Linked DNA regions of Homo sapiens: regions 1, 3, 4, 5, 6 and 7 are each linked to region 2. The links are contacts of gene promoters, found by promoter capture Hi-C in blood cells and fetal thymus (Javierre and others, 2016). All regions are on one chromosome and are shown on one strand. Each heading gives the region's core, a stretch centred on a gene start or on the middle of the fragment in contact. The rest is flanking DNA. Distances are from core to core; before and after follow the strand shown.

What was found. Contacts are between HindIII fragments. The CHiCAGO score rates a contact against its expected background, and 5 or more counts as called.
Region 1: a fragment that was not itself captured here is called in contact with the fragment with the promoter of LRRC40 in region 2 in 2 of 17 cell types (total B cells and fetal thymus); the score reaches 12.3 in total B cells.
Region 3: a contact is called between a fragment that was not itself captured here and the fragment with the promoter of LRRC40 in region 2, in 3 of 17 cell types (naive CD8 T cells, total CD4 T cells and naive B cells). The highest score is 8.6, in naive CD8 T cells.
Region 4: a fragment that was not itself captured here is called in contact with the fragment with the promoter of LRRC40 in region 2 in 4 of 17 cell types (non-activated CD4 T cells, total CD4 T cells, naive CD4 T cells and 1 more); the score reaches 22.9 in non-activated CD4 T cells.
Region 5: a fragment that was not itself captured here is called in contact with the fragment with the promoter of LRRC40 in region 2 in 1 of 17 cell types (total CD4 T cells); the score reaches 5.3 in total CD4 T cells.
Region 6: the fragment with the promoter of ATG4C here is called in contact with the fragment with the promoter of LRRC40 in region 2 in 9 of 17 cell types (total CD4 T cells, non-activated CD4 T cells, naive CD8 T cells and 6 more); the score reaches 27.0 in total CD4 T cells.
Region 7: a fragment that was not itself captured here is called in contact with the fragment with the promoter of LRRC40 in region 2 in 1 of 17 cell types (total CD4 T cells); the score reaches 8.4 in total CD4 T cells.

The regions. Positions count from the first base shown.
Region 1 is chr1:77,965,882-77,968,581 of GRCh38, forward strand. It overlaps FUBP1 (far upstream element binding protein 1), which reads right to left. Exons shown (of 20, transcript NM_003902.5): 3 at 2,284-2,322; 4 at 1,746-1,785; 5 at 1,168-1,220; 6 at 1,003-1,074; 7 at 813-870. Among named protein-coding and RNA genes, the nearest start is that of FUBP1, 12 kb to the right of the region's middle. The HindIII fragment of the contact is 1,999 bases long and covers 368-2,366 here.
Region 2 is chr1:70,204,256-70,206,955 of GRCh38, forward strand. LRRC40 (leucine rich repeat containing 40) reads right to left here and starts at 1,324. Exons shown (of 15, transcript NM_017768.5): 1 at 1,135-1,324. The coding sequence starts at 1,285. It also overlaps a transcript of SRSF11 not described here. RefSeq lists enhancers at 918-977, 1,238-1,547. The HindIII fragment of the contact is 8,465 bases long and covers 1-2,700 here.
Region 3 is chr1:77,685,982-77,688,786 of GRCh38, forward strand. No RefSeq gene overlaps it. Among named protein-coding and RNA genes, the nearest start is that of ZZZ3, 4.7 kb to the left of the region's middle. The HindIII fragment of the contact is 2,227 bases long and covers 322-2,548 here.
Region 4 is chr1:62,432,224-62,434,923 of GRCh38, forward strand. No RefSeq gene overlaps it. Among named protein-coding and RNA genes, the nearest start is that of USP1, 3.5 kb to the right of the region's middle. The HindIII fragment of the contact is 3,951 bases long and covers 1-2,700 here.
Region 5 is chr1:62,452,170-62,454,869 of GRCh38, forward strand. DOCK7 (dedicator of cytokinesis 7) reads right to left here. Exons shown (of 50, transcript NM_001367561.1): 50 at 2,557-2,700. Among named protein-coding and RNA genes, the nearest start is that of USP1, 16 kb to the left of the region's middle. The HindIII fragment of the contact is 5,172 bases long and covers 1-2,700 here.
Region 6 is chr1:62,782,786-62,785,485 of GRCh38, forward strand. It overlaps ATG4C (autophagy related 4C cysteine peptidase), which reads left to right and starts at 1,347. Exons shown (of 11, transcript NM_032852.4): 1 at 1,347-1,488. RefSeq lists enhancers at 1,048-1,097, 1,198-1,257, 1,378-1,557 and a silencer at 1,533-1,827. The HindIII fragment of the contact is 3,523 bases long and covers 1-2,512 here.
Region 7 is chr1:77,984,635-77,987,334 of GRCh38, forward strand. It overlaps a transcript of DNAJB4 not described here. Among named protein-coding and RNA genes, the nearest start is that of FUBP1, 6.9 kb to the left of the region's middle. The HindIII fragment of the contact is 598 bases long and covers 954-1,551 here.

The sequences.
Region 1 (2,700 bases), core at 117-2,616, 7.8 Mb after region 2:
ACTAAAAAAATACAAAAATTAGCTGGGTGTGGTGGCATGCACCGGTAGTCCCAGCTACTCGGGAGGCGGAGGTTGCAGTGAGCCGAGATCGTGCCCCTGCACTCCAGCCTGGCAACAGAGCGAGACTTCGTCTCAAAAAAAAGAAAAGAAAAAACCTAGTAATGAGGGAGAACTAACAATGCAGAAGAAAGTACAACTGCAAGCTGAACCTTCAGTAGGAAGAAAGGGCTGGCTTTAGGCACTCGAACACAAAAGGAAAGCAATTACCTGAGTACTATGTGAACAGAGGAAAAATGAAGGCTGGTAGGTTTAGTGGTAGGGAAAAAGAAAAGCTTCTTATCATTTGCTTCCATTTTCTCAGTAAATAAGCTTAAGTGGGAGAGCGTGGGGTTAGATGCTGAAGATTTGGAGGTGGGGAAATACAGTATTAAAGAGCCTGGGAGAGGAGTGGAAAAGTGAATGGAACTAGGGAAATGCAGGCAACACAACAGTCCACTTGAGCTTAATGTCTGAGTTTTAAGTGTCACCAGTCGACCTGACTGTGCATTCTTCTCCAGGCTACACGTGGCTTTACAAGTAGAGACTGGAGTAGATATGGAGTTGTTTTAACCATTTTCTGTGTTTAATGATTCAGATGATGAACCCCACCTGAGAAAGGCATGAGGCATAAACTTCAAAGGAGTTGGAGGACTTTGAGGGAAGGTGGCAGCGAAACCACAGTGTAAAATAAAGCAGTAACAAAGAGAAGAGACAAAATTCAAAGAGTTCTGCTGTTGTTACTTAAGTAGATTTTTAAGATTTTTCAAACTTACTGGACAGATTCAGGTGTTCCAGTTAACATACAGGACCTTTCTGGAAGGCCACCACTGTCTACAATTTAAAACAAACAGATAACTTCAGGTCAAAAGATTAAAAGTAGCATTATTGTTACTAGAAGGCTTAAAAAAAAAAAAAAGCTAGTTTTCTAGTCACACTGAAAATACCATGAGAATGTAACATTACCAGGAGCTATCTGTATTTTGCATCCAGATTCCTGTTGTATGCGTGAGATCTGTTCACCTCCTCTGCCAATTACTAGTTAGAAAAAAAAAAATTTTTTTTTTGGTTGAAAGATTCTAAAGTATGTTTTGATCATGTTTTCAAAACTTTAAAAATCAAGTTACTTACTGAATCCAACCATTCCATCTGGAACTTTGTATTCTTCTGTCATTACAGATCTGCTAAGAAATAACAGAAAGCACCATTTTCCTTCAATGAAAGATACTTTGTTTACAAATAAAAGATAATCTATTAATAAAAATGGAAGTCTAATGTCTCCCAATGGCTTAAACTAAGGTTCTAGGCTCAGACTCATGTCAAAAAATATGATCTTATTACTTGAGTAGTTAAATTAAGAAATTTAAGATGACACATCAAGTGAAGAAGGGATGATGAATGGAACAGTCTGAAGGCATTAACTGTAAAGAAGTTGAAGTGGAGTTTAGAGAATGTCATCTTAACAGTTACTCTAATTCACCCCTGTTCTTCTAAAATGTGGTTAATTCCACCTATCTCTCCAAATCACAAATTTTTCTCACTCAAAAGAAAAATCATCACTTTATGGTACCTTCCCAAGGGGAGTGATATGAACTAGGTACACCAAAAAATACACAGACACATATTCAATATACACCAATGTGGTTGTGTTTTTACATACAGCTCAACCAAAACTTGCAGAGTACTTTTTGAAAATCTTGTGACTATACCTTTGCTGCTGATGCATCGGTGGTAACTGTGTTCCAAAAGCTATCAAAAAATTAAATAAAAATAAAACAAAAATTCAAAATTTAAATTTACTTATATATTTAACAACACAATCACATCAAACATTCAAAAATCTCTCCCTAATGCACAGACAACACCTTGAAGAGAGTCAAATTTTTTACACAATATTTATATTGGCATTGACAGGGGCAAGAGAGCCAATGAAAGGGAAGACATTATATTAGCAATGGCACAGAACAAAATAATTTCCTTTTTCAAGTTGTACAAGTATAGATCAAGAATTGGAGTTGTTAAATATGTAAAATAATTCAGCAACCAATCTTTACATATACCCGGCCACAATTAATGGGACAGATTGTAAAATAGGAGAAAAAGGTATATATTTACAAAGAAATTCAGGCTAGCTGATCCAAAATACTCATAAACCAACTAACTTCAAAGATACCCAATAATATGAACAAAATCTTAACATTGAAATTGTTACTTTAGCTTTTGACCCAGTTTAAAAGGAATACTTACAGTCATTTTGAGGAGCAACTTTCTTAGCATCTGGTTGATCTGCAAAATTAAGTGTCTTTTAATTTTTTGCCAATTAAGTACAAAGCTTCTCCCCTCCCAAACAAGAATAAATAACAATATAAACATTTATTGAAATATCTGAAGGTATGGTTTATCATTTGAACCAAAACTGCCAAAATTCAACCCCAACTCAGTAATCTAAAAAAGAAACGATACTTCATTCTCTTCACGTTCAAAAGATGCACAGACATTAAAATAGTTATCTGATTCTTAAGAAATCACTGACCTTAATGTATGTTAAGCACATTAGAATGACACAAGACAACGTACTTTAGGTCCATTACTAGCAAAATATCACATGCTAAAGGCTAATGATGCTTCCACCTCAGGAACTGAAGACTGGGGGGAGAAAAGCCT
Region 2 (2,700 bases), core at 74-2,573:
ATACAACAAAGCACAAAACAAAGCTCACTGACTTCATGATATTAACCTTTTGGTTGGAGGGCAGAGAAAACAAAAAACATAAATGATATAAATTCTGATAGTGATAAATGCTGTTAAAAAATTAAACAGGTAAGAGAACAGAATGTTAGCATGATAGGTATGCAAGTTTAGAGAAAAATGTTTCAGGTTTTGGGGAAACCAAGTAGATATATATATATGCACAACTGTAGTTTGAAAATGAGTATGTTCCCATTGATCAAAAACTCTTTTAGGTGGAGTAAGGATTCTGTGTCTTTTCATTCATTCAGAAGCATTTGCTTGCCTAATCTACTTTATACATGTCACAATAAGAAAGCAATCATTAGAAGGAAAATGGAAGGTTTTAATCAGTCTTAAAACCTAAATATAAATGAAGAAAAACATTACAGGAAAAATGCTCTATTTCTCCATCTCTCCATTCCCCTCCCTCTCTCTCTTACACACACACACACACACACACACACACGACAATCAGAAGAGCATCTGGCCATTCATTCATGGTACCCAGATTTGTGCTTCTTGGTCTTTAACAGGTTTCTCAGGATGTCCCCACATTCAAACACTCTGTGTGGCATCTATCCTGATCTTCAACTTAGAAAATATACTCATTATTCCTTGTAAGTAGAACTCTGCACAGCTGCATACAGAAGAGCGTCTCGGCAGGGAACAGTGCAGGTTCACAAAGGGGCCGATAAAACATATAATTTTAGCTTTGGTAATTGCCCTTGAAGATTACAATAAGAGGAGGAAAATAAGGGCCAAAGAAACAAAAGATTTGCCCGTGATTTGATAGCTGGTTTCGTCACATATTATGTTGCTTATCCCACAGAATGTGGGAATCCCAGAAAGCGCCCCGTTTAAATTTAGACCGTATTTTTAGCAGGGTCCCTTTAACAGAGATTGCGGGAACCTGGGAAGGAACTGAACTGGGCTAACCAAACCGGTCGAAATGAGCACAGGGATTAGATTAGAGCACAGAAATTCTGGCTAGCAGTCTGAGAAAGGGGGCCAAAGCCAGCCCAGAGAAAAGGGAGGTTGCCTGGGCCAAAGGCTTTCTGACAGGAGACACAATAGGGTCGTACCTCTGGGTCTTACCTTCACTGAGGTTTCTACCCGACAGGTTTAACTGGCCGCTCTTCCTCGCTGCCTTCAACAGCCCTTGGGGTACCGAGGTACCGCAGTCTCTTCCACCTGCTTTGAAACCAGCGCGGAGATCCTGCCCCGCTATCCGCTTCAGGCGCGACATGTTCAAAGTCCTAGGTCCAGAAGCTGCAGCCCCACCCGTGACGCTTAAAGGTGGCGCCGTTGGGATGCCCCGCTCCTTTCGTGAGCGCGCGCTCTGGGCGCTGGGCTCGCGGCCTCGCGCTGGGCCTTCACTCTCTGCGGCGCAGTCCAGATGTCGTCAGCACCAGCGCCTGGGCTGGAGGACAGAGAAGCCTTTTCCGTTGCCGGTGCCGGCCTAGCGTCCTGGAATTACTTCAATCAAGTAAGTGCGTTTAACGGGCTTAAGAGGGGCTTTCGGGTTTATTGTTTGCACTGTTACTGCGACTCCAACCTTCTCCTCTGTGCTTCCACCGTGGCGAGGGTGTGGGGAAAGAGAACCCTCTCTTCTCCCCTCTCCTAGTCTGAACGTGGGCCTTGACTAAAACTTGAGATCTGGGCGCGGTCGGCAGCGTTTCTGGACCCCAGCCTGTGTTTGTCGCTTGTGGTGGTGGCGCCAGACCTCTGGCGTACGGAGTAAAAGAAATTTTCTGTTCTTAAGGCTTGTACTCTGACACCATTCTCGTTGTATTGAGGGTATATAGCTTACCCAGCAAAGGAGGTAATGTGAAATGGAAGGACTGGCAACATAGAAGACAAAAACAAAAATCCTTAAAATTTAATAAATGTTCTGTGTATCAGACAGTTTAGGGAGACAAGTAGTGGTACATGCTTTAGTGAAGCTCAGACAGCTTGGATTTTTGAGCCCTAAAAAGCAAGTTCAAATCTCAGCTGCTTCTTTACTTTAGAAACTGTTAACTTTAGGCAGTTTACTCAACCGCTTTTAAAGCTCATTCCTTTTTTTCATTACTTTGGGGATAATTCCTACCGCATAAGGTTTTTGAAATAAGTGAAGATAAAAACTAGAATCTTGAGCTCTCGGTGAGTCCAGAATAATAGCAAATGAAAATTTTGTTCAATGTAAGTCGGTGTTTCCTAGGAAATTAAAATTTTCATCTGAAATGTACAACTTCTTGATTCAACAAGTAATTATTAAGATTAATCCTGCCTAGTATGTGTACTATCCTGGGTGCTAGACTTTTCTTTTGCCTGAAATGATTTTGTTTTAAAAGCATATGCCAGGGAATACCATTCTAACCCCCATCAAGTCTACTGAGGATTGGTAGAATAGTTGAAAGCTAGGATGAAGGCCCTTTGATCAATTCTTCATCACGCACTTTTACCTGAGTCCAGGTTATTGCTACCTGTAAAATTCGGTTTTTAACTCTACCCTTTTTGTTCTTATTTCTGTGGAGTCCTTTACACTAATATCGAACAAGAGAAAGTTACCAATAGTTGTTACCCTACTAAAAAAGCAAAGAGTGGATTTTTGTCTTTTTTTTTTTTTTTTTTTTGAGACAAAGTCTGGTCTGTCGCCTAGGCTGGAATGCAGTGGCGTGA
Region 3 (2,805 bases), core at 185-2,684, 7.5 Mb after region 2:
GAGATCCTCAATTAAGAGTAGGAAAGAGAAGCTTCATTGCTCCTGGAAAAGGGAACCACTGCCAACCTTGCTGGCAAATACCACTCCCTAATTACGACATGTATATTCCTACATGGCCTTTGTTATTTTTTTTTTCTTTTGGAGACAGGATCTCGTTCTGTCGCCCAAGCTGGTGTGCACTGGCACAGTCTAGGCTCACTGCAGCCTCCTGTGTCCCTTGTAGCTGAGATACGCACCACTGTGCCCAGTTAATTTTTGTATTTTTTATAGAGATGAGGTTTTGCCATGTTGCCCAGGCTGGTCTCAAAACTCCTGGCCCCAAGCTTCCACCCACCTCAGCCTCCCAAAGTACTGGGATTACAGGCGTGAGCCACCACGCCTGGCCCCCTTTGTTATTTTGACCTAGGATCACGTTATATTGAAGATGGAAGATACATTAACATCAACTAATTCAGCAGTTTGTACAATATTTTCTGAAGCACTGGAAATTTCTTGTATACTCATATTCTTATGCCAGGATCCAATATTTGAGCCAAATAAAACAGGACCTGGGAGGAGGCAACCAGCTGACATTTTCCTCAGTCCCTTACCACGACACATAAGATGCTACCTCAGAACACACTTTGAAAATCATTGATGTAGTTCATTCTTTCAACAAATATGCCAGGTGCCATACAAGGTGCTAGAGATACAGTGGTGAACAAAGCAAGCACAGGCCCTACTCTGACAGAGCTCACAGTCTAGGGAGGGAGGCTGACATTTAAAATATAATCACATAAATTCAAACTGGTTAGTACCATTCATGAAAAGTGCAGGTCACCCGTCTGGGAAGTGAGAAGCGCCTCTGCCCAGCTGCCGCCCTGTCTGTAAAGTGATGAGCCCTCCTGCCTGGCCGCCCAACTGTCTGGGAAGTGAGGAGCGCCACTGCCCGGCCACTGCACCATCTGGGATGTCAGGAGCCCATCTGCCCGGCCCGCACCGTCTGGGAAGTGAGGAGCACCCCTGCCCCGCCGCCTCACCTTCTGGGAAGTGAGGAGCACTTCTGCCCCGCCCCCATCCCGTCTGGGAAGTGAGGAGCACCTCTGCCCCGCTGCTCCACCATCTGGGAAGTGAGAGCACCTCTGCCCCGCTGCTCCACCGTCTGGGAAGTGAGGAGCGCCTCTGCCCTGCCCTCCCCCCTCCACCCCCCCCCCACGCCCCCCGCCACCCCACCGTCTGGGAAGTGAGAAGCACCTCTGCCTGGCTGCTCCACTGTCTGGCAAGTGAGGAGCGCCTCTGCCCAGCTCCCGCCCCGTCTGGAAAGTGAGGAGCGCCTCTGCCTGGCCACCCAACTGTCTGGGAAGTTCGGAGCGCCACTGCCCGGCCACTGACATCTGGGATGTCAGGAGCCCATCTGCCCGGCCTGCACCGTCTGGGAAGTGAGGAGCGCTTCTGCCTGGCCCCCACCCCCTCTAGGAAGTGAGGAGCGCCTCTGCCCAGTCCCCCCATTGTCTGGGAAGTGAGGAGCGCTTCTGCCTGGCCCCCACCCCGTCTAGGAAGTGAGGAGCGCCTCTGCTCGGCCCCCACCCCATCTGGGAAGTGAGGAGCGCCTCTGACCGGCCCCCACCCCGTCTAGGAAGTGAGGAGCACATCTGCCCGGCCCCCACCCCGTCTGCGAAGTGAGGAGGGCCTCTGCCCGGCCACCACACCGTCTGGAATGTGAGGAGCAAGTCGGGGAAGTGAGGAGGGCCTCTGCCCGGCCGCCCCGCCCCCCACCCCTCCTTCCATCTGGGAAGTGAGGAGCGCCTCTGCTGGCCGCTGTGCAACCCTCCAAGTGTGAAGTGACAGCCTTGTGCGTGCTCTTTCTGCCCTCCCCAAGTTTGCATTTTCGACATTAAAGTTTACTTTTTTTTTTGAGACGGATCGCTCTGTCGCCCAGGCTGGAATGCAGTGGCGCGATCTCGGGTCACTGCAAGCTCCGCCCCCCAGGTTCACGCCATTCTCCTGCCTCAGCCTCCCGAGTAGCTGGGACTACAGCCACCCGCCACTACGCCCGGCTAATTTTTTGTATTTTTAGCAGAGGCGGGGTTTCGCCGTGTTAGTCAGGATGGTCTCGATCTCCTGACCTTGTGATCCGCCCACCTCGGCCTCCCAAAGTGCTGAGATTACAGGCGTGAGCCACCGCGCCCGGCCTTAAAGTTTACTTTTTAATTAAAAGTTTTAAATTGGAGAATATACAAAAAAAAAGCGCAGGTCACTATGAGAATATGTCCATATACCCAAAAGTACATACATGTTCTAAAGTACTTCTGAGGAAGCAACATCCAATCTGAGATGAAGTATGCATTCACCACTTCTAAAGTGTGAATGCATTTAGGAGTTGGGCAAAGGTGGGAAAAACACTCCAGAGAAAGAGAACAGTTGATGCAAAGCCCCCTACATGGGATGGAAGTTATTATTTATTTACTACTACTACTTACTATTGCCTGAAAGAAACCACTGTTTTTTTTCCCACGTATATAAAATCTAAGATGAAGTCATATATCCTAATTTCTTTCATTGGATCATAAGCTTTTTTCTATGTCATTAAATATTCTTCAAAAACCCCAAGAACTGGGCCAAGCATGGTGGCTTACACCTGTAATCCCAGCACTTTGGGAGGCCAATGTGGGAGAATCACTTGAAGTCAGGAGTTCAGGCCTAGCTTGGGCAACATAGCAACATCCCATCTCTATAAAAAATATTTTAAAATTAGCCAGGCTTGGTGGTACACACCTGTACTCCCAGCTACTCTGGAGGCTAAGGCAGAAGGATTACCTGAGCCAA
Region 4 (2,700 bases), core at 131-2,630, 7.8 Mb before region 2:
CTTTTTTCTTTCCTGCATAGGACTGTAGACATGATGGCTGGAATTTAAACAGCTATAAAGGACCGAAAGGTAGAAGCCACATGTTGAGAATGGAAGAAATTAATTAGGTCCCTGATGGTCACAGAACCACCATACTAATCTAGACTGCCTACTTCTGCATTATGTATACATGATAAAGACATGAATATTAATTTTAGCTAAGGACACTTAAAAATATTCTGTTACTTATAAACAAACCTATTCCTATCGGATGCAGAGTTTGGTTCCTATAAATTTGTGCTACACATAACCTTAAAAGAAATGTGGTTTTTAGTGGAAGCATTTGGGCAGTGGGTGGTAAAGACTCAGATACTGCAAGATGGAAAACTGGTGACCTTTGTTCTCCAGTTGCCAGACATTTGGTAAACCTGTTGCCAGCTTTAGAAGACAGATCACACGCCAATCAAAATTGTGGCACGAAGGGAAATGGCTGGAAATATCTATAAACTTGGTATTTGCTGGCTTTTTCTTGACACTTTAAACCAAGTTCTATGAGATATGAATTCAGGCCAGAAGTAACCAATTTGCATGTAGAAATGGAAAAGAATACAGTTTTGCTAAAGGAGAAATTCTGCTGTAATCCAAGTGGATTAAAAGTCTCATAATTTGGGCGGGACGTGGTGGTTCATGCCTGTAATCTCAGCACTTTGGGAGGCCGAGGCGGATCACGAGGTCAGGAGTTCGAGACTAGCCTGGCCAACACTGTGAAACCCCGTCTCTATTAAAAATACAAAAATTAGCTGGGCGTCGTGGCAGGCACCAGTAATCCCAGCTACTTGGGAGGCTGAGGCAGGAGAATTGCTTGAACCCAGGAGGTGGAGGTTGCAGTGAGCCAAGATCATGCCATTGCACTCCAGCCTGGGGGACAGAGCAAGACTCCATCTCAAAAAAATAAAAATAAAAGTTTCATAATTTGAAGATTTAAAGGGCGGAAAAAAACCACACTTCTTCTATACCTTTAGACTGAAGTACAGTTGGCCCTCCACATTCATGGGTTCCATATACATGGATTCAACCAACCACAGATCAAAAAATCTTATGAAAAAGGTACACAAAGTTCCAAAAAGCAAAACTTGAATTTGCCACGTGCCAAGTGTTAAATACTATGTTAAATCCATGTGAATGATGTGTAGGCATTGTATTAGGTAATTAAGTAATCTAGAGATGATTTAAAGTATAGGTGGGATGTGCATAAGTTGTATGCAAATACTATGCCATTTTATATATGGGACTTGAGCATCCTCGGATTTTGATATCCATAACGGTCCTGGAACCAATCCCCCATGGATACCAAGGGATGACTGTACACAGAAACAGTGCCTGTGAAACTTTGGAAGGAAATATGCCTGGCATTTACCCACACAAGACTGACAAATATAGGATTGAGAATGCTGTGAACCTATTAAATCCCATTGTTTCCAAAGGGATTAGCTGTCATTAAGAGTGGGGTAACTGGGGAGCACACAGAAACTGGGAAAAAAGTTTCGGGGCTTAAAAACTCATCTAGGCAAGAACTGTGGCTAGAATTTCTCCCACAAACAACTGACTGAAAGCAAAAGAATGAGAAGCATATTAAATTTTTACATTAATCATATTGCCAGAGACACACCAAACTTCTGCTATTGCTGTTGACAAGCACAGTTGTGGAGGTGTTTGATTTTTCTGAAGCAGCATTAGCAGAAACCTCAGTGTCTAGCCACTTGTCCTGTGGGCCTTGACAGACGGGACGTAGGATATGCATGGCACTGGTGCAGATCATAGTGGGTATAGTGTGGTTCTAGGGTCAGCGGTGCACGCAGCTTTCTGATGGTGGTTTCCTAGGCATGGCAGCAGCAGTGTGATTCAGAGACGTCATTTCCTGATCATAGAAGAGTCATTGCTTCCTTGGTGGCCTGGTTCTGGGAAGACTTTGGGACTCATTCCTGAAAAACTAATCTAGAGCCTATTTAATCAACCCTCCCAAGTATTCAATATCTTTGTGTTTATACTAGCTAAAATGGATTCTATTTTCCGCAAATGAATCTTAACTGATACCACACATTGTGTACAGGAAGAATAGTGGCTGCAGACAATAGGATCTCAGGAATATGGGAAAGTAGAATTGCTTATCTGTTCTCGTAGAGTTTGAAAGTAGCAATAATTATGCTAGTACTAGAAAATGAGACACTGCCACTCTGTGGTGCACAATGGCTAAGACTGACCTATATACATTTTCTAATCTTGTCCTTGTGTATTTCGTGATCTGCTGGTTCAACATCTGTTTGTACGTTAAACACCTCAATCTTAATATTCTAAGAACGATGATCCTTCCCATTGAGCCTACTAAGACCCCCATTTTAGCAAGGACCAACACTGAGTTGCTCAGGTTAAAAAAAAAATCGTTACTCTTTGTTTTTTTTTCTTTTTTCGGGTGGGAGGGTGGAGGGCAGGGCCTCACACTGTTGCCCAGGCTGGAGTGCAGTGGTGCATCTCGGCTCACTGCAGCCAGGGGATCCTCCTCCCTCATCCTCCCGAGTGGCTGGGACTACAGGCACGTGCCACCACGCACGGCCAATTTTTGGAGTTTTTTGTAGCGATGGGTCTTGCCATGTTGCCCAGGCTGATCTTGAACTCCTGGGTTCAAGCGGTCCACCGGCCCTGGCTACCCGACCTGTTTTTTCT
Region 5 (2,700 bases), core at 5-2,504, 7.8 Mb before region 2:
TGTAAATGCTATTGGGGTAACACTTTAATACCCCATTTCAACAAGGAGTACCTTCTCAATTAAAAAAAAATCGCAGTAGGCTGGGCGCGGTGGCTCACGCCTGTAATCCCAGCACATTGGGAGGCTGAGGCTGGTGGATCACGAGGTCAGGAGATCGAGATCATCCTGGCTAACACATGAAATCCCGTCTCTACTAAAAATACAAAAAATTAGCCGGGCGTGGTGGCAGGCATCTGTAGTCCCAGCTACTCAGGAGGCGGAGGCAGGAGAATGGCATGAACCCAGGAGGCGGAGCTTGCAGTGAGCCGAGATTGCGCCACTGCACTCCAGCCTGGGCAACAGAGTGAGACTCCGTCTCAAAAAAAAAAAAACACAGTTACATAATGTCTTATATTCTTTCATAGGATGATGAGATGGTAATAAAGTCATGGTTCTCCCCACCTTTCAGAATCACTAATGGAAATCCTTAAACAGTCCTGAGCGCTACCTGTAAGTTTTGAATGGAATGGGTCTAAGATAGACACTGGGCCTCTTAATACTCGAGAGACAGCCAGTTCTAAGAACTAACACAAATTCCTGATGTGAGAAAGTTCCATTTTAAGAAAAATGAAGTTTGTAAGAGGTTTGTATCATACGAATGTTTAAGAGGAAGCCTCTGTTCTGAAGGATGTCAGAAAATAATTGGTTTTGCATAATTATATAAATCATAAAGTCCTTGATATTACTGAGATTTCTGAGATTTTTGTCCAAACTGTTATATAAATGTAACCTAATGAGAAGTGACCCTTCAGTGGTTCCTTATTCTCTCCCTTATGTTTATACCCACCACTGACCCCCAAAGAAGAAGGGAAAATGTCACTTTTTTTGGAGGGGAGGGATTTCCATTCTTGACTCCTTACCTTTCCTTATTGTTCATTTGGCTCCTCAAATAGAGTTTTGAGGTTATGCCCTTCTGACTCAGATTTGGTCTAACAATGTAGACTCATCTGAAAAATGTTTTTGTGATTCAGTCTTTGAATTGATATAGATAAGAGGAATTTGAGATGATACTGCCCATTAAAGTACATGGAGTGTGGGATATCAACCATCACTTAGGCTCTCAGAAGTAGATATTTTTTAGTATATTTTGAATATTTACTACATTGACTATAGAATGAAGGCAATACGTTAAATCTGACCAGTTTTTGTTTTTTTTTTTTGAAACGGAGTCTAGCTCTGTCACCCAGGCTGGAGTGCAGTGGCGTGATCTCAGCTCACTGCAAGCTCCGCCTCCCGGGTTCACGCCATTCTCCTGCCTCAGCCTCCCGAGTAGCTGGGACTACAGGCTCCTGCCCCCTCGCCTGGCTAATTTTTTGTATTTTTAGTAGAGACGGGGTTTGACTGTTAGCCAGGATGGTCTCAATCTCCTGACCTCGTGATCTGTCTGCCTCGGCCTCCCAAAGTGCTGGTTTTTGTTTTTGACTTAAGAGTCTTGCTCTGTCGCCCAGGCTGAAGTGCAGTGGCGCCATTTTGGCTCGCTGCAACCTCCACTTTCCAGGTTCCAGTGATTCTCATGCCTCAGCCACCCAAGTAGTTCGGATTACAGGCACGGGCTACTACACCTGGCTGATTTTTGTGTTTTTGGTAGAGATGGGGTTTCACCATATTGACCAGGCTGTTCTTGAACTCCTGGCCTCATGATCCGCCTGCCCCTGCCTCCCAGAGTGCTGGGATTATAGGCCTGAGCCACTGCACCCAGCCAATCTGATCAGTTCTTTTATATATATGTGTGTGTATGTATGTATGTGTGTGTGCGTGTGTGTACAGATGATAGTTTTTTTTTTTTTTTTTTTTTTGAGACGGAGTCTCTGTCGCCCAGGCTAGAGTTGCAGTGGCTCCATCTCTGCTCACTCCAACCTCTGCTGCCCGGGTTCAAGCGATTCTCCTGCTTCAGTCTCCCAAGTAGCTGGGATTACAGGCTCCTGCCACTGTGCCTGGCTAATTAATTTCTGTATTTTTAGTAGAGACGGGTTTTCACCATCTTGGCCAGGCTGGTCTTGAACTCCTGACTTCGTGATCCACCCGCCTCGGCCTCCCAAAGTGTTGGGATTACAGATGTGAGCCACCGCACCCAGATCTGGTTAGTTCTTAAGTGATTCATGTAACTGGTCAGTAGAAGAAAAGGATTATAAATGATGCCATTCTGTAAACTGCACTACTACCCAAAAACCATTGTTCTAAACTGTTCTGGAAATCATTACTATGCATCGTTTTGGAAAAACTTGCCAAGAATTAAAATGTTACTTCTCAAATTTTTTTTCTGTATGACTTGCATATAATTTTAGATGAATTAAAGCACCTAATTTTACTTTTTATATGCTTCTAAACTTTACAAGTGTCAGAAAATAGGTAATTTCTCAAACTCCAGCTGTGTTACCTTCATGGTGCTACAAGATAGCTTTAAGTAGATTCTAATTTACTGGTTTACATCGTCAAAAACTGATGGCTGGTTTTAATTTGAAACAGAGAAATCATTCATTTTAGTTGCTAAGAATCATGAAGTTCTTACTACTATCATTGGTGTAATAAGATTTAATCAAGTTAAGGTGTTGTCACTGGTATTAGTTATCCCCGTATTTAAATTATTTTACACAAAGGTTTTACTAAGTAAAGTTCTGCAATTCTAAATTCCTGTTTTGGGTATGTAAATGGAAAATAACT
Region 6 (2,700 bases), core at 97-2,596, 7.4 Mb before region 2:
CGGCATAGGATTACATTTTACAGTAACAGTATTTCTCTTGACATCATTTAGGAGTGAAGATAAAAATTTCCACTTATTTATTTATTTATTTATTTATTTTTACTTTTTTGAGACAGGGTCTTGCTCTGTCGCCCAGGCTGGAGTGCAGAGGCACAATCTTGGCTCACTGAAAACTCCGCCTCCCGAGTTCAAGCGATTCTCCCGCCTCAGCCTCCTGAGTAGTTGGGACTACAGGCGCGCGCCACCGCACCCGGCTAATTTTTTATATTTTTAGTAGAGACGGGATTTCACCATGTTGGCCAGGCTGGTCTGGAACTCCTGGGCTCAAGTGATCCGCCCGCCTCGGCCTCCCAAAATGCTGGGATTACAGGCGTCAGCCGCCGCGCCTGGCCAAAAATTTCCACGTTATAAAAAGCATCTTCGGACCGTCCTTTTTTCTTTCTTTCTTTTTCTTTTCCTTCTTTTTTTTTTTTTTTTCCCCACAAAGCCTCGCTCTGTCGCCCAGGCTGGAGTGCAGTGGCGCGATCTCTGCTCACTGCAACCTTTGCCTCCCGGGTTCAAGCAATTCTCCTGCCTCAGGCTCCCGAGTAGCTGGAATTACAGGCGCCCGCCGCCACGCCCGGCTAATTTTTTAATTTTTTAACAGAGACGGGCTTTCACCATGTTGGCCAGGTTGGTCTCGAACTCCCAACCTCAAGCGATCCACCCGCCTCGGCCTCCCAAAGTGCTGGGATTACAGACGCGAACCACCGCGCCCGACTGTCCTGTGTTTTAATGCTTGAAAATAATCTGAATATGGAAAATGAGTGCACATATCCCTTGATGTTTTATAAATAACCTACAGTCCTAATAATGGCTTGGCTTAGAGTTCCTTCACAACAGGAAAAGAAGGCATCCTGGCTTTTTTTTTTTTTTTTTTTTTAAATCAAAGTGAGGCTTGGGTTGGCTCTATCTTGGTCCTGAGTGCGAGGAAGGAGGGCCGCAATGCATGCTGGATCTTGCAGTTCCTACGCCAGAGGCAAGGGCGTGATGCTGCATGGCCTGCTGGTAGTTGAAGTCCAAGTGCTCGAGAGGAATTTATGGCAGCCGTAATGTGGTTTGTCTATCAGAGAGACAATGCTCACAGACGGATACTTTCTCTTGGTTCTGCGCTTGCTGCATTGGTGGATTAGCGGCTTGGGGTGGCGAACAGGTGGGAAAAAGGGATGGATAAAGTAAGCATAGCAGAGGCCTTTACGCCGCTGCTATCGCTACTGCCAATCGCAAGGCTTTCGTATCCCGGAAGTGGCTGATCTGTTGGATTTGACGCGGAGGCGGTTCCTCTTACTACGGTGGCCGGGGTGCTCAAAGTACCTGTAGCTGCGGCGCTGAGGTCGGAACGTCTGCGTGTGTGCGGGCTGGTTTTGTGGCGGCTGCTGCTAGAGCTGGAGCATTTGCCGGGTTGGTGGCTCCTGCACATTTTTACAGTTCTCCAGTCCTTCTCTTTCGGTGAGGGATCGGCTTGAGGCTAAAGGAGTCAAGAAGTTTGGGACTTAGCGTCTCTGGTCCCCGAATGACTGGGTTTCTTGCGGGGGTCCGCCTTCAGTGAAGACCCTGTGGCCAACCATCTGGGTTCTCTGAGGGTTTTGGCGCCTTCCTTGTCTCTCCTTTCTAGTGTCATTTGTCTTCTAACTCTTCCTCGCTTTGTCCTGGGTTGCAGAGATAAACCGTAAGCCTAACTGTGGGCAGCTGTTCCTCCTTTCCTTGTGGTTTTCTTAGATGTTGCAGGCAAGACTCTTTCCCCTGATCTATCGCATCCATTTGACCCCTCCTCATGCCAGTGCTCTGTCGGCCCTGTTTTTCCTCGTTTAAAAAATAAAAAAAGGGAAATAATAATAATAACTGGATCCCCACTGTCTCTCTGTTCTCATTCCTAGCCTCTTTCTCCCTTTTTGGTGTTTGTTACTGCTTCAAGCCATAACACACTGCCTTGCATATATTAATGCCTTTCCATCTAAATATTAACGTTCATTCACTTCATTTGGTTCCCGCTCACCGTGAACTCTCCCAACCCTACCCACATCTAAGGGCTTTTGAGGTTGGAGGTGTAGAATAAATTCTTACATATGATGACTATATTCATATATGAGAACCTTCAGCGGTCAACTCAGCATCACTGCTTATTGAGTTTATATTTCTTGTGATTTCTTTGGCTTACCTTTTCGTTTTGTATTGGTTATTTACCCACATGGGGCTCACTGCTACCCTATAGTTACAGAAGAATACCTCGTCTTACATCTTTTTATATCCGAATTACTTAGGAGTTTTCTTATGTTTTCCTGCTCGGACCATATGTCCCCGGTGGGTTTTTGGCAATGATTTTGTGTCAGTTGATGGCAGAAAGAGACAAGGGAATGATCTTCTTGCTTGCTTGTGACTTGTAATTAGATTATGAGCCATTGAGAATACCCAGAGGGAGTGGAAAGGCTTTGAAAGGTAAAGTCTATGTATTTTCTGAGTTTCAAATTGATAAAGCTTCTTCTTTGAACAGGAAGAGTTTCTATTTAGTCCAATAATCTGAGGCTATATTGAATTACCAGTTCATTCGCTATAAAATTTTTAGAACCACATGTCAAAAAGTGGCCCATCTAAAGAATTGTATAATTTAGCAAAAAGTCATTAAAAGCCATTTAATTAATGCTCTTTTTCTTTAAAATAGGA
Region 7 (2,700 bases), core at 3-2,502, 7.8 Mb after region 2:
CCTCTGTATAAAAGAGGGCTTGTCAAGGACCGCGTCTTATTCTTTGGTTTGCCCAGTATGCTTTTATGTTGGTAAAAGTTTAATAAATATCAAGTTGAATTCTTTATTCCACTTATCATTTTCCTACAAAGCTACATATGATTATGAATGTGGAGGGCCTTTGAGGCCAGATGGCACTGAAGGGTAGTTTCACACAAACTTTTCTTAGAATATCAGTCTTGGAAAGACCTTGAAGGTAATCTCGCCCATTTGTTTCATTTTATATTGGAGGAAACCATAACACAGATTGCTGAGTGCCTTCTACAAAGTGCCAAGATTAATTGCAGAGCCAAGACTAGATTTCTAATCCAGTGCTCTTTATTTTGTGAACTGTCTTCTATATGAAGCATCGGTGTTTGGGTTGGAGGTTTTCTGCTTCTTAGGTACAAGAGGAAGAAGAATCTGTACAGAACCAAAAACATCTTAATTTTTGTAATCAGGATGTCTACCTTTACTGACAACATTTACTGACAACATTTCCTTCTGAAAATAGGTTATTGAAAGATCAAGGATCTTTGCCAGTGAAATCCTTAACTGGAAGTGGGTGGGTACAAGATAGAAAACTCATTTGGTATAACAATTTTGTTGTTTTTTAGTGGAACCTTGCTTCTCTGTTCTGACATTTCCATGTCTCTATTTATAGTAGTGATCTCTTTGGAATTTGCCTTCTGATTCCATTTGTTCCTTTATGTTGCTTCATATTAACTGATATTCTCACTTCATTTAAAAAAAATTTGAAGGGACATGTACTTAAGAAAAAGGAATTAATTTTTTTATAAGAAATATCTGGAGGTACTATTTTTCTATGGTTTATCATAATCATTGTTTATGCCAGGTTATCTAATTGTAGCAATAATATAAATACTATTTTTTCAAGCAAGAATGTTAGTTTTAAAAAATTTATGTGCATATTAAGCTTTAGACACCTTTTATCCAGGACAGATATTACCTTTAGATTCTTAACAACCTTGCTCCTTAACTATGCACTTTGATATAAATGAAGATTGAGAGGTTTTAGTTAGAGCTTTTAAGTGGTAAACGGTCAAGGGCAGGAGCTATCTTATTTACCTTTGAGATGACAATAATGCCTGGCATCTAGTAGGTCCTAATTAATCTATTCATTTATTCAATTCAACAAAAATTCTGGGCATTGTTCTAAGTGCTAGAGATACAGTAGTAAACAAAATAGACATATATCTCACCGTCTTGTCTTGAGCATGCTAGTGAGTGAAGGTGGATTGAAACCATGGATCACTTTGCAGAGACTCCCTATTGTTTTCAGACAATTATTTGTATCAGTCTAACCAATAATATCCTGTAGCTAATTAAGCAATGGTTTGAAGAGTCAGAATGGGAGAAGCTGAATGATCAGATAGATCATTCATTCATTAAACATTTAATTTCCTAGTGTATGTTAAATTATTTGAAACAAGCTAGTGAATGTGAGTCATTGTCATCCCAATTGTCAGCCTGATTCTTGTGCTCTGTTTATATCTTGGGGTAAAGACTTCAAGCTTCTGGCCAGGTTACAGCCCGGGAACTTCATCTCAGATCACATACCACTGAATCCTAAGTGCATAAAATAATGTGTGCCATGTAGTAAATATTACTACATTAATCCTTAACTACTCGAAATGCAATTTCCTCACTACTTATGGCCACAGCCTGCATCTAGTCTTCATCCAGACAACTCAAACAATAAAAATCTTCAAGTCTGATATTCTCCTCAAGATGACCTCTTGTCAGTTTGTTTCCTAATGTACTTCTTCCGTTCCTCTAGTCTCTTGACACTTCTCTTTTCTTTCCATCTCTTACTTGCTGGCTTTCCTTCTTTGCCATTCACGTCAGTAATTCTCAACTCCCACTCCCCTTTGTCTTTTAGTTGTGTCCATTCTTTAAATCAACAACTCTTAATCAGTTCAAATTGACTTTGGAGTCGGATGAACTTCAAATCACCATTTGCTACTTCAGTGACCTTGCCAAATTCTTTAACCTTTTTTGAGTTTGTTTACTCCTTGTCACCCTAAGCATTGTTTTGAAAATTAAATGAGATTATTGTATCCAGATACTTTTGACCACAAGTAATGAAAACCCTTATTAAATGGCTTAAATAATAAAAAATCCAGGGGTAGAGTGGCTCTAAGGCTGGTTGATGAGCAGCTCAACAATTTATGAGGTACCCATGTTTTTTTCATCTTTGCCTTCTACCACCCTCAGCTTCTTGACTTTACTCCCCTAATGATTGCATAATGGTTGCCACAGTTCCAGGTGTCATGCAGTCATGATTGTTAAATGGAAGGGGAAAGTTTCTGCTACCAGTGTCCCTACCCTCCACCCCTGCCACAACTGCCAATCTTATTAACCTTGTCCTGACCAGAGTTGAGTCACAGGCTTACTCTATCAAGTGTCATACTGGCTTAGAATAATTAGGATTCATCTCAGGGGTGAGGGAGAGGCCCCACTTTCCTAGTAATAGTTATTCTTACTACTGCATTTGTGAGTGCTAGGACTCAATCCTTGTGCCCTTTTACCCTATCTATGATTCTAGTAATTTCCTCTAGTCTCATGGTTTCAAATATCACCTACACTCTTCCCAAATTTTTCTCTTTTAAGAGACAGGATCTCTGTCGCCCAAACTGAAGTGCAGTGGTGCAATCTTAG